Regions from separate parts of the Homo sapiens genome. Here region 2 is linked to region 1. Evidence: promoter capture Hi-C in 16 types of primary human blood cells and fetal thymus (Javierre and others, 2016). All regions are on one chromosome and are shown on one strand. Each heading gives the region's core, a stretch centred on a gene start or on the middle of the fragment in contact. The rest is flanking DNA. Distances are from core to core; before and after follow the strand shown. Region 1 holds the start of LINC01431 (long intergenic non-protein coding RNA 1431). Region 2 holds the start of NAA20 (N-alpha-acetyltransferase 20, NatB catalytic subunit).

Evidence for each region. Contacts are between HindIII fragments. The CHiCAGO score rates a contact against its expected background, and 5 or more counts as called.
Region 2: a contact is called between the fragment with the promoter of NAA20 here and the fragment with the promoter of LINC01431 in region 1, in 2 of 17 cell types (naive CD8 T cells and total CD4 T cells). The highest score is 7.7, in naive CD8 T cells.

Annotation. Positions count from the first base shown.
Region 1 is chr20:23,355,539-23,360,094 of GRCh38, forward strand. LINC01431 (long intergenic non-protein coding RNA 1431) reads right to left here and starts at 2,589. Exons shown (of 3, transcript NR_109884.1): 1 at 2,417-2,589; 2 at 1,513-1,599; 3 at 1,056-1,431. RefSeq lists enhancers at 2,015-2,104, 2,295-2,684 and a silencer at 2,735-2,924. The HindIII fragment of the contact is 4,137 bases long and covers 1,573-4,556 here.
Region 2 is chr20:20,015,509-20,020,064 of GRCh38, forward strand. NAA20 (N-alpha-acetyltransferase 20, NatB catalytic subunit) reads left to right here and starts at 1,854. Exons shown (of 6, transcript NM_016100.5): 1 at 1,854-1,941. The coding sequence starts at 1,889. RefSeq lists enhancers at 1,361-1,540, 2,155-2,655, 3,117-4,316 and silencers at 1,861-1,930, 1,981-2,100. The HindIII fragment of the contact is 8,583 bases long and covers 1-3,891 here.

The DNA of each region.
Region 1 (4,556 bases), core at 1,339-3,838:
ATTGCATTTCTTCAATGTAAAGAATAGAAAACCCTATAGAAGTTGGACCAATAGATGATGTGCCTGCCATGCTGCAGCTTCCCCAGTTAAGTTGTCTTTGGTAAAAGTGTGCTAGGTTTGGGATAGGGTAGTCAAGATACTGCAATGGGAAATTTTGAGAAGGGTAAGAATCCTGATAAGCACAGTGACACAGGTAGCCGTTTCCTCTTGACACCCCTTCCCTTCTCTATTATCTGAAGCCCAGTGTTTTGAGAGATAAGGGACCCACCTTAAATACTTGACTTTCTCATTCAATTTGTAGCTAGGTCTGACATGTGATTAAGTTCTGGCCAATGAAGTAGGACTGAACTTGGGGGAATTTTCCTTCAACAGACCCTTCTTTCTTTCCCACTCTATCCTGCTGCCTGGAAAGGTTATGCTGACCTGACCACGGGCTCTGGCTCAGTCTTGGCCAAGAGAACAGCTCAGCCATACCCTAGACGTAGGATAGTGCTGAGCTAAAAGGAGCCTAGGTCCCATGTGGAAACACCAAAATAGCCCCAGCTCACTCAACCAAAGACTTCTTTTTAAATGAGAAATCCCATCTTAAGCCATTATCAATTTGGGGTGTGTGACACTGACACACAGCAGTAATCCTAAGTGAGGAAAAGGATTTGAATGGGGCAGACTGTATTCACTACAGGGCCCAGAAGACGCGGGGACGGCCCCAACTACTGCCCTTCAGGTCCGGGCCAGACCCGCAATGGGCAGGATGGGTAGGGTACAGGGCGTGCGTCCCCACCTACACTAGCCTGGTTGCAGGCGGCCTCCAAGGGCACAGCGGGAAGCTCCGCCCTTGCCATGCCCCCGCCACCGGGGAAGGCAAGACAAATGTGCGTGGCACCCTCCTCCTTCGGTTCTGGGACACATCTCCACCAAGCGGCCGTTCGGCAGGTAGGGCCAGATGGTCCCGGCTCGTCCCTGCGGGTGGGGTTTCCCACCGGCGGAAAGCGCAAGCCCCTCCCGTTCTGTCCAGCGCGCTGCCCGCTGCCTTAATTATAAGGCAGATGAAGGTGAAAAGTTTACTGGTTTTTATTTTTGCAACTTTTTGTAAATTTTAAATTATTCTAAAAAGTTTAAGAAATGAATTGTGCTGAGGAGTATAATCAGCACGCAGTGCGAGTTCTTATAGTGGCCACGTCCACAAACCCTGTGTTGTGGAAGAACAGAAGGCGTTCTGCTTTCTGTGTTTCACCGTCTCTCCCTCGCTTTAACTTCCAGGTCCCGGAGTAGTGGTGACAGCAAGGTCTGTTGGTTTCTTTGGTTTAGGTTTGATGAAAGGCCACTCCAGTGGGGTAGGAGGTGGGCAGGGAGAACAGGGGCTAGGGTGGGAGGGGCAGGAGTTGGGTCCTGGGGGTGGAGGAGATGACGGGGAGAGTGGCTTGGAGAAATCTGCAAGAAGAGACATTGGAAGGCCGGGGGAGGTGAAATGGACACTGGGTGAAGCTGAGGAGTCCTAGTGAACCATGTTACCTCTGATCCAGATATTCCCAGAACAACAAGAAATCAAGCTTCTGAATGTGGTCTGTTGCAAGCTTGGAAGGTGCACACCTGTTGCTGCTAATTTGGACAATTTGGGGGAAGAGCAGAGATTTAGATGTTGCTTTGGTCGACCTTAAACACCAGCCCTGTCTCCCCTACCACTTTGCCAAATTAGGGCCCCGTCTCTCTAAAGAGCAAACAGAAAACTGCAGAAAGTTGCTTTGTCCTGTAGACAAGAGGCTGGGACTAGGTAAGAGGAGGGAGCCAGGATGCAAAACTTAAGACCAGCCTGGCCAACAAGGCGAAACCCCGTTTCTACTAAAAATAGAAAAATTAGCTGGGCGTGGTGGCAGGCGCCTGTAATCCCAGCTACTCAGGAAGCTGAGGCAGGACAATCGCTTGAACCCAGGAGGCGGAGGTTGTAGTCAGCCAAGATCGCGCCACTGCATTCCAGTCTGGGCGACAGAGCGAGACTCCGTAACAAAAAACAAACAAACAAACAAAAAATCTTAAACATCACCAACGAGCCTTGTGAGAAATGGTTTAACGTTGTGATACCTTGCCCAATTTTAAGGCAGGTAAAGGTGTGTGTTAAAACTCAACTCTTGAACTGAACCCCAGCTGCCCTTTAGGGCATGCTTAATTTGATGTGGACTGTAACCTCTTTTGCAGCATTGTAGAGATTTGGAATCTGCACATTAGGAAGAGACCCCACGAGGCGGTGGCGTTCTTTCTCGTTCGGAGCTCACACCCCTCCTGGGGAGCCCTCTCCCAACCCGGGCTCCCGGTAAGCGCGGTCGCCGCTCCTCTGAGGGCTGCTCTTCCCTCGCTTCTGAGCCGAGGCCCCCGCGACACGAACGCCACGCCCGAAGCGCTCTTGCCAGGACGTACTGACCGAGGGTAGGCTGCCCAGCCGGGTGGTAACGTTGAGGAAAGGACAGCAGCTTCGCAAAGGAGCTGGGTAAAACCACGCCCAGACCCCGCTGGCCACCAGCCCGAGACCAAGACGCAGGCGGTGGCGCCGGTTTCTCACTCAACCGCAGGTTCCAGCATCCCCGATACGGCCGACGTCATTACCCTGCGACCGCTCAGGACACTTCTGAGGACTCTTTTGACAGCTAGTAATCGCGCGGTGGCGCGACCACGTGACTCCGGCGCCCTAGCCCCGCCCTCCGTCTCCAAGGAGCCCTGGAAGGAGCTATACCAGCGGCTCCAGAAGGCGGGGAGAGGCGGGGCCGGACTCCGGGACAGCCAATGGGCGAGGAGTGCCGCCCAGCCTGACCCACCGGCCGCTCCCTCACGAGCCTGTGGGCGTGCGCCGGCTGTGCAGGTGAGGGGCAGCGAGGGCGCCTAGTGGGCAGGGCGCCGGCGTTGCGCGTGCGTCAGTGTTCTTCCTTGTGCAGTTTAGAATTTGATACATTTCTTTCCAGTCTATTTCTATAGATTTGTTTTCAAATCACATCAGACCCTATGTAAAATAGTGTACCGTCTTTACTCATTATAACATGGTGAGCATTTCCCCAAGCTATTACACATATTTTTAAACATTGTTTTAATGACCGGCATAATAATCCAGTGCTTGGATATATCAAATTCTTCGGCCATCTCCTTATAGGTGAGATTGTTTCCAAAGTTTCACTAATGTAAGTGCACTGCAGTGAACGCCCTTACGTAACAATTGTTCACTCCCGTGTACTTTTCTCGTGCAGAGTTCTACAGCATGAAACACTATATTTAACTTTGTCAGGTTGATGTTTATCAGTGGTTTATTATTGTTTTTATAGTATTCCATTGTCAGTGAAGTATGCCATTCACACTGTCAAGTGAATTGTCTATTTGTATTATTTAAAAAAAAGATCACAAACATAGAAAGGAGAGCTTTATTTCTTTAAACGGTGATAACCTGCAAGGTGGCCCTTCTGACAGGCTGGGAAGCATAGCTTCTGGCAGAAGCTCAAAAGGCAGGCAGCTGGAGGGAAGGGGGCCTAAGACAGGAATTTAAGCTGAAGGACTTAGCCAAGTACACATATGAACAGGCCACAGGAAGAGCTATGAATATTCATGAAACGGGTCCTGACCCATGCTTACTGGACAAACGTGCATGTTACAGGTGACCTATGTTTACTTTGGGGTGGACTCTTAGCATTTACAGGTATTCATGTATTACATTTAGACCCTATAAGTTGAAAGATCTTTTCAGGACACCGATGCACTTGTGTGCAGCCTCTGTAAACCGCCAGAATCAGCCCCTGTTCGGTTGTTTCCCATCAGGAAAAAGTTACTGCAGTCAGTCTCTGGTCCAATCAAAGCAGTAATTATTTGTGGAAGTGGTGGGGCTGGGGCAGGGGGCGTGTCAGTCAGCATGTGGAGGTGGATGAAAAGCACATTGTTTGAATATTGCTTATCTAGAGGCCAGTGCTTGTTTGGCTGCCAGAGAATAAAAACCTTGTGGCAGTTAAGGCATAGTTTCTTCTTGAAGTGTAGAGGTGCATGACAACCCTTGCCAGGCATGGCCCTTCATTCTTTATCATTTAGTATTGCCACAAAGAGTCTGTGAGTCTTATGACCTCTATTTTTAAAGCTATTAAGACACTCAACTAAAGCAATCCTTTCAGTATTGAATGGATAAGCTAGCATTATGTTATGCTAGCTAACATAATCGGAGACGGAGTCTCATTCTATTGCCCAGGCTGGAGTGCAATGGCATGATCGAAGCTCACTGCAACCTCCATCTCCTGGGTTCAAGTGATTCTCCTGCCTCAGCCTCCTGAGCATCTGGGATTACAAGTGCCTGTCACCACTCCCGGCTAATTTGGTTTTGTTTTTTTGAGACAGAGTTTTCCTCTGTTGCCCAGGCTGGAATGCAGTGGTGCAATCTCCGCTCACTGCAACCTCTGCCTCCCATGTTCAAGCGATTCTCCTGCCTCAGTCTCCTGAATAGCTGGGATTAAAGGCATGTACCACCTCGCCCAGCTAATTTTTGTATTATTAGCAGGGAAAGGGTTTCACCATGTTGTCCAGGCTGGTCTTGAACT
Region 2 (4,556 bases), core at 604-3,103, 3.3 Mb before region 1:
ACTGCTGGCCTACAGCATCCAGTTTCTGCAGGGTTCCAATGCTACCTTTGTGTTAAACCCACAGTGTTTTTTTCTAAAAATCAAAATCATGTTTATTCCACCATTACCTAGATACAAACATAAAGTAGCTATAAACTTCTAATGTTTATAATACCAATGAATCAGAGCCAAAAATATTATAAAAACCTTCACTACTTCATAAGGAACAAAATTCAAATCAACATTAGTTCATGTCACACACAAAAAATTATGAAACACTTTGAAATGGCCAGAAAAAGATTACTGTTTAGTACACGTTTCCAGGTTTTCTCTGCTTTTTATTGTCTTTGACAATACAAAATTTTACAAATTTGTAAGCTGAGGAAAATTGATAGTAATGAAAATTTTTCTTGTCCATAAAATACAAATGCATAGTGTTATACAGTGCCCAGGAGAGACAGTGATTACAGCTCTGTGGATATTGACCAGTTTAACACTCATGTGTAAATACATTTCAGCATTCCTGCTTGCTTTATGTATTTTATCTCTCTTTATCTTATCTTTTTGAGACAGGGTCTTGGTGTGTCACCCAGGCTGGAGTGCAGTGGTGCAATCATGTCTCAGAGCAACCTCTACCTCCCGGGCTCAAATGATCCTCCCACCTCAGCCTCCCAAGTAGCTGGGATTACAGGTGTGAGCCACTGTGTCTGGTCTGAATAAAGGAATTTTTAACTTTTAATTTTAACTACTTTAAATTTAAAAACTGATGTTTGGTTCAGCGATTTGAAAACAGTATATTTGGAACCGCTTGGATATGAGAATCTGCTTTTTAACCATACATTGATGAAATCTAAATAGAGAACAAGCATTTCCGATGACAGCTGCTCTCTCAGATTGAAATGCACTGCAAATGTAAAATACACACCGGATTTCAAAGTCTTTGCAAAAAAGAATGTAACATATCACATTCCTTTTTTTATTGATTGATTACATGTTGAGTATTGATTGGTTACATGTTGAAATGATATTTCGGGTATAATAAAGTGGGGTCAGGGAAAAATATTTTTCCCAAATAGGAAAAATAAATGGGTAAAATAAAGCGTACTATCAAAATCAATTTTACATTTCGTTTTGCTTTTATTTATTTATTATTTATTTTTGAGACCAAGTCTAGCTCTGTCGCCCAGGCTGGAGTGCAGTGGCGAGATCTCGGCTCACTGCAACCTCCGCCTCCTGGGTTCAAGCGATTCTCCTGCCTCAGCCTCCAAGTAGCTGGGATTAGAGGCGCGTGCCACCACGCCCAGCTAATTTTTATTTCTTTCCTTTTTTTTTTTTTTTTAGTAGAGAGGGGGTTTCGCCATGTTGGCCAGGTTGGTCTCGAACTGCTGAACTCAAGTGATCTGCCCGCCTTGGCCTCCCAGTGTTGGGATTACAGGCGTGAGCCACCGCGCCCGGCCTTCTTTTTGTTTTTAAACGTGGTATTGACATTTTAAGATGACATCTGCAACTCGCAACACTGGGACAAGGGATTCTGGGTCATAAATTCTCCCATTCCTCATTTACTCTGCAGCACCGGGTGGCTGCGAACTCCGCTCTTCTGCTTGGGTTTCCGCATCACCAGCAGCTTCTTTCCTTCCCAGGTGTCGCCGCCTGCTTTCTGCAGCCGCTGCCTGGGAGGGGTTCCGAGGTTCTGGGCAGCCACAGCCCCGGAGGCCTTACAGGAGCGACCTGGCAATTCCCGCCGCCGGCCGCCAGAGGAAGCTGCTTTGCTGCTGTCGTTGCCCAGCAACTCGTAGCCCGGAAGCAGTACCCCGTCTCGCTCGGTTCCGCGGCGGCCACGCTCCGGGAGACTTCCGGCAGGGCGGGCGCGGGGTCTTGGCGAACGGTCTTCGGAAGCGGCGGCGGCGCGATGACCACGCTACGGGCCTTTACCTGCGACGACCTGTTCCGCTTCAACAACATGTGAGTGACACGCGCCTAGGGCCAGCCGCTCTTGGCCGGGCCTCGCTTCCCGGCCCCGCCAGCTCCGGCCCCAGCCGCGCCTTCCCGGCCGGACCCCAAGCCCGGACGGGGACCCGCGAGAACCACCCCCCGCCGGCCAACGTGGGCGCCTCCCTGGGGCCACAGGGTCCAGGGAGAGGTGGGCCTGGAGTCGACGCACGCCGGCCTTGGCGACCTTGGCCGAGGTGCTCAAACTTTGTCTCTGGACCCTGCGAGCTGGCAGGTTCTGGGGCAGCGCTCGGGCCTCCGCTCGTGGTCGCTGTCAGGAGGCGCTGGGGTGATGGGGCGAGCTGGAGACGCGGCCTGGAGCCCACGACCTGGGCTTCTCGCCCTGCCCTACTGCTTGCTGGTTCGTGGCCGGGCCGCGCCTCTTCTGGGCAGAGGGCACCGCCGACGGCCAGGCCGCAGAGGGGGCTTGCGAGGATCGGAAGCTGGTCAGCAGCTGTTGGGATGTGTACATCGTGAAGCCCACCTGGTGGCCGTGGTTAAATTGTATCCAAATGAAATGACACTGATCACTGCGTCCCCTGCAGCAGATGCTGTCTCAGTCATGGTTAGTGTTTGCAAGTTTAGTTACTGTAGCTGCGCACCCCGGTGTACACACCTTTCCTCTGTGAGGAGTCACGGCAGATCTTAGGGGAGGCTCGCTGTGCCCAGAGCCCTGGATGCAGTTTCTTTGGATTCGAGTTAAGGCCAGACCTCTGATTTGCAGGTACCAATTTTTTTTTTTTAAGAAAACATTTTATTATGAAGATTCCCACACATTTAGAAAAGTTGGAGGAATTTCACCATGTGCTTTTATAGACACTTTTCCTGGATTCTGCAGTTAACATTTTGCTACGCTGGTATCTCTCCTTCCTTCCCATCTATCAGTCCTGGATCCACTTTAAAAAAACAACAGGGCGGTATGTGAAAACTAAGGACAAAGTGGTTCCGATTCAAGTGTCAGGAAGATGGAAAGAACTATGGGATAAGATGGCTGGGAACATTTCAAAGAGGGGGTGAGCCTTGAAGATGGATAACACATTGGTAAGTGAGGAAGACGGAAGTTCCGGAGAAGGAGCGGGGCATGAAAATGGGGAAACTTGAAGTGCGGTCAGACAACTGGGATCAGTGCGAATCTAGTGGCTGGTTTCTGCCACTGAGCAGTCAGGAAGAAATGGGTGAAACAGGAGGGGTTTAGACTTGATCCTGTGGAAAGAATTTTCTGTTGGGCCAGTCTGGTAGCTACGGTGACTTGTGTTGAACTCACTGTTCCCTGCATTGTTCTGAGTGCCCACGTAATAATCCAGTTAATCCTCACGATTCTTTGAGGTGCTGTCACCCCCATTTTGTGTATGAGTAAACCAAGGCATGGCAAGCACAAGTGAATTGGCCCAGGTGAGAATGAGTAAAGCGAGGAACTTCATCCAAGGATATTGGCTCTGGAGCAGTGGTTCTGAAAGACTTGGTGCCTGTGGTCAGGGGACCATGTTAGAAACGCACATTCCGTTTGCGATCCACTGCTCTGGAGTGGGTCTTAACCCACCTGGAGCCTCTGGAGAGGCTCACCCTCTCTTTAAAGTGTTCCCAGCCATCTCATCCCATAGTCCTTTCTATCCTCCTGACCCTTGAATCGGAACCACTTGGTTTTTCGTTTTCACTTACTGCCCTGTTGTTTTTAAAAGTGGATCTAGGATTGATAGGTGGGCAGAGAGAAATGATGAAGCCAGTGTAGCAAAGTGTTCACTGTAGAATCCAGGTGATGGATTCAAATTCTTAACCACTGAGCTCTGTGGGCTGTCATGTGATGACAGCAGGTAAACTGGGCAGGTAAGCCATTCAGGAGGCCTTGGCAGTGGCCCAGAGACGATGACTTGACAGAGGCTTCAGTTTGGGAGGTGCAGCATGGGAGGTGACAGGGTGCCTTGAAGCTTCAAGAAAAGGCAGAGCCTCATGGAGAATCAGTTTTAACTGAAGATCTAGGAAAGGACAACAGTTTTACATGGAAATGAATAGAAAGAAAATACACAGGAACACTTGCAAGAAAATATTAGATTTCAGAGAATCATGTGGCCTCTTCAGAAGGTGCCAGTAGGGGAACTCCACTTATTCCCCATTTTCTTTTATTTTTTGAGACAGGGTCTCGCTCTGTTGCCCAGACAGGAGTGCAGTGGCACAATCCTAGGTCGCTTTAGTCTCAAGCTCCCAGGCCCAGGCAATCCTCCTGCCTCAGCCTCCCGAGTAGTTGGGACTACAGGCACGTGCTGCCACACCCCACTAATTTTTAAATTTTTTTGTGGAGACAGGGTCTTGTTTTGTTACCCGGGCTGGTCTGGAACTCCCAGGCTCAAGTGATTCTCCCACCTAATCCTTCCAAAGTGCTGGAATTACAAGTGTGAGCCACCACACCTGGTTCCCATTTTTTTGTATTTACTTGCCTCTTTGATTAGGGCATTTTGGTAGAAAACTCTGAGAATGACTCAGATTAGATGATGCAGTTGGAATTGAAATAATCCATGGATGTAGAACACTGCAATTAATTTAACACATATTTTATTCTTGGAAAAATATTTGAGTGCCTACTGTGTGCCAGT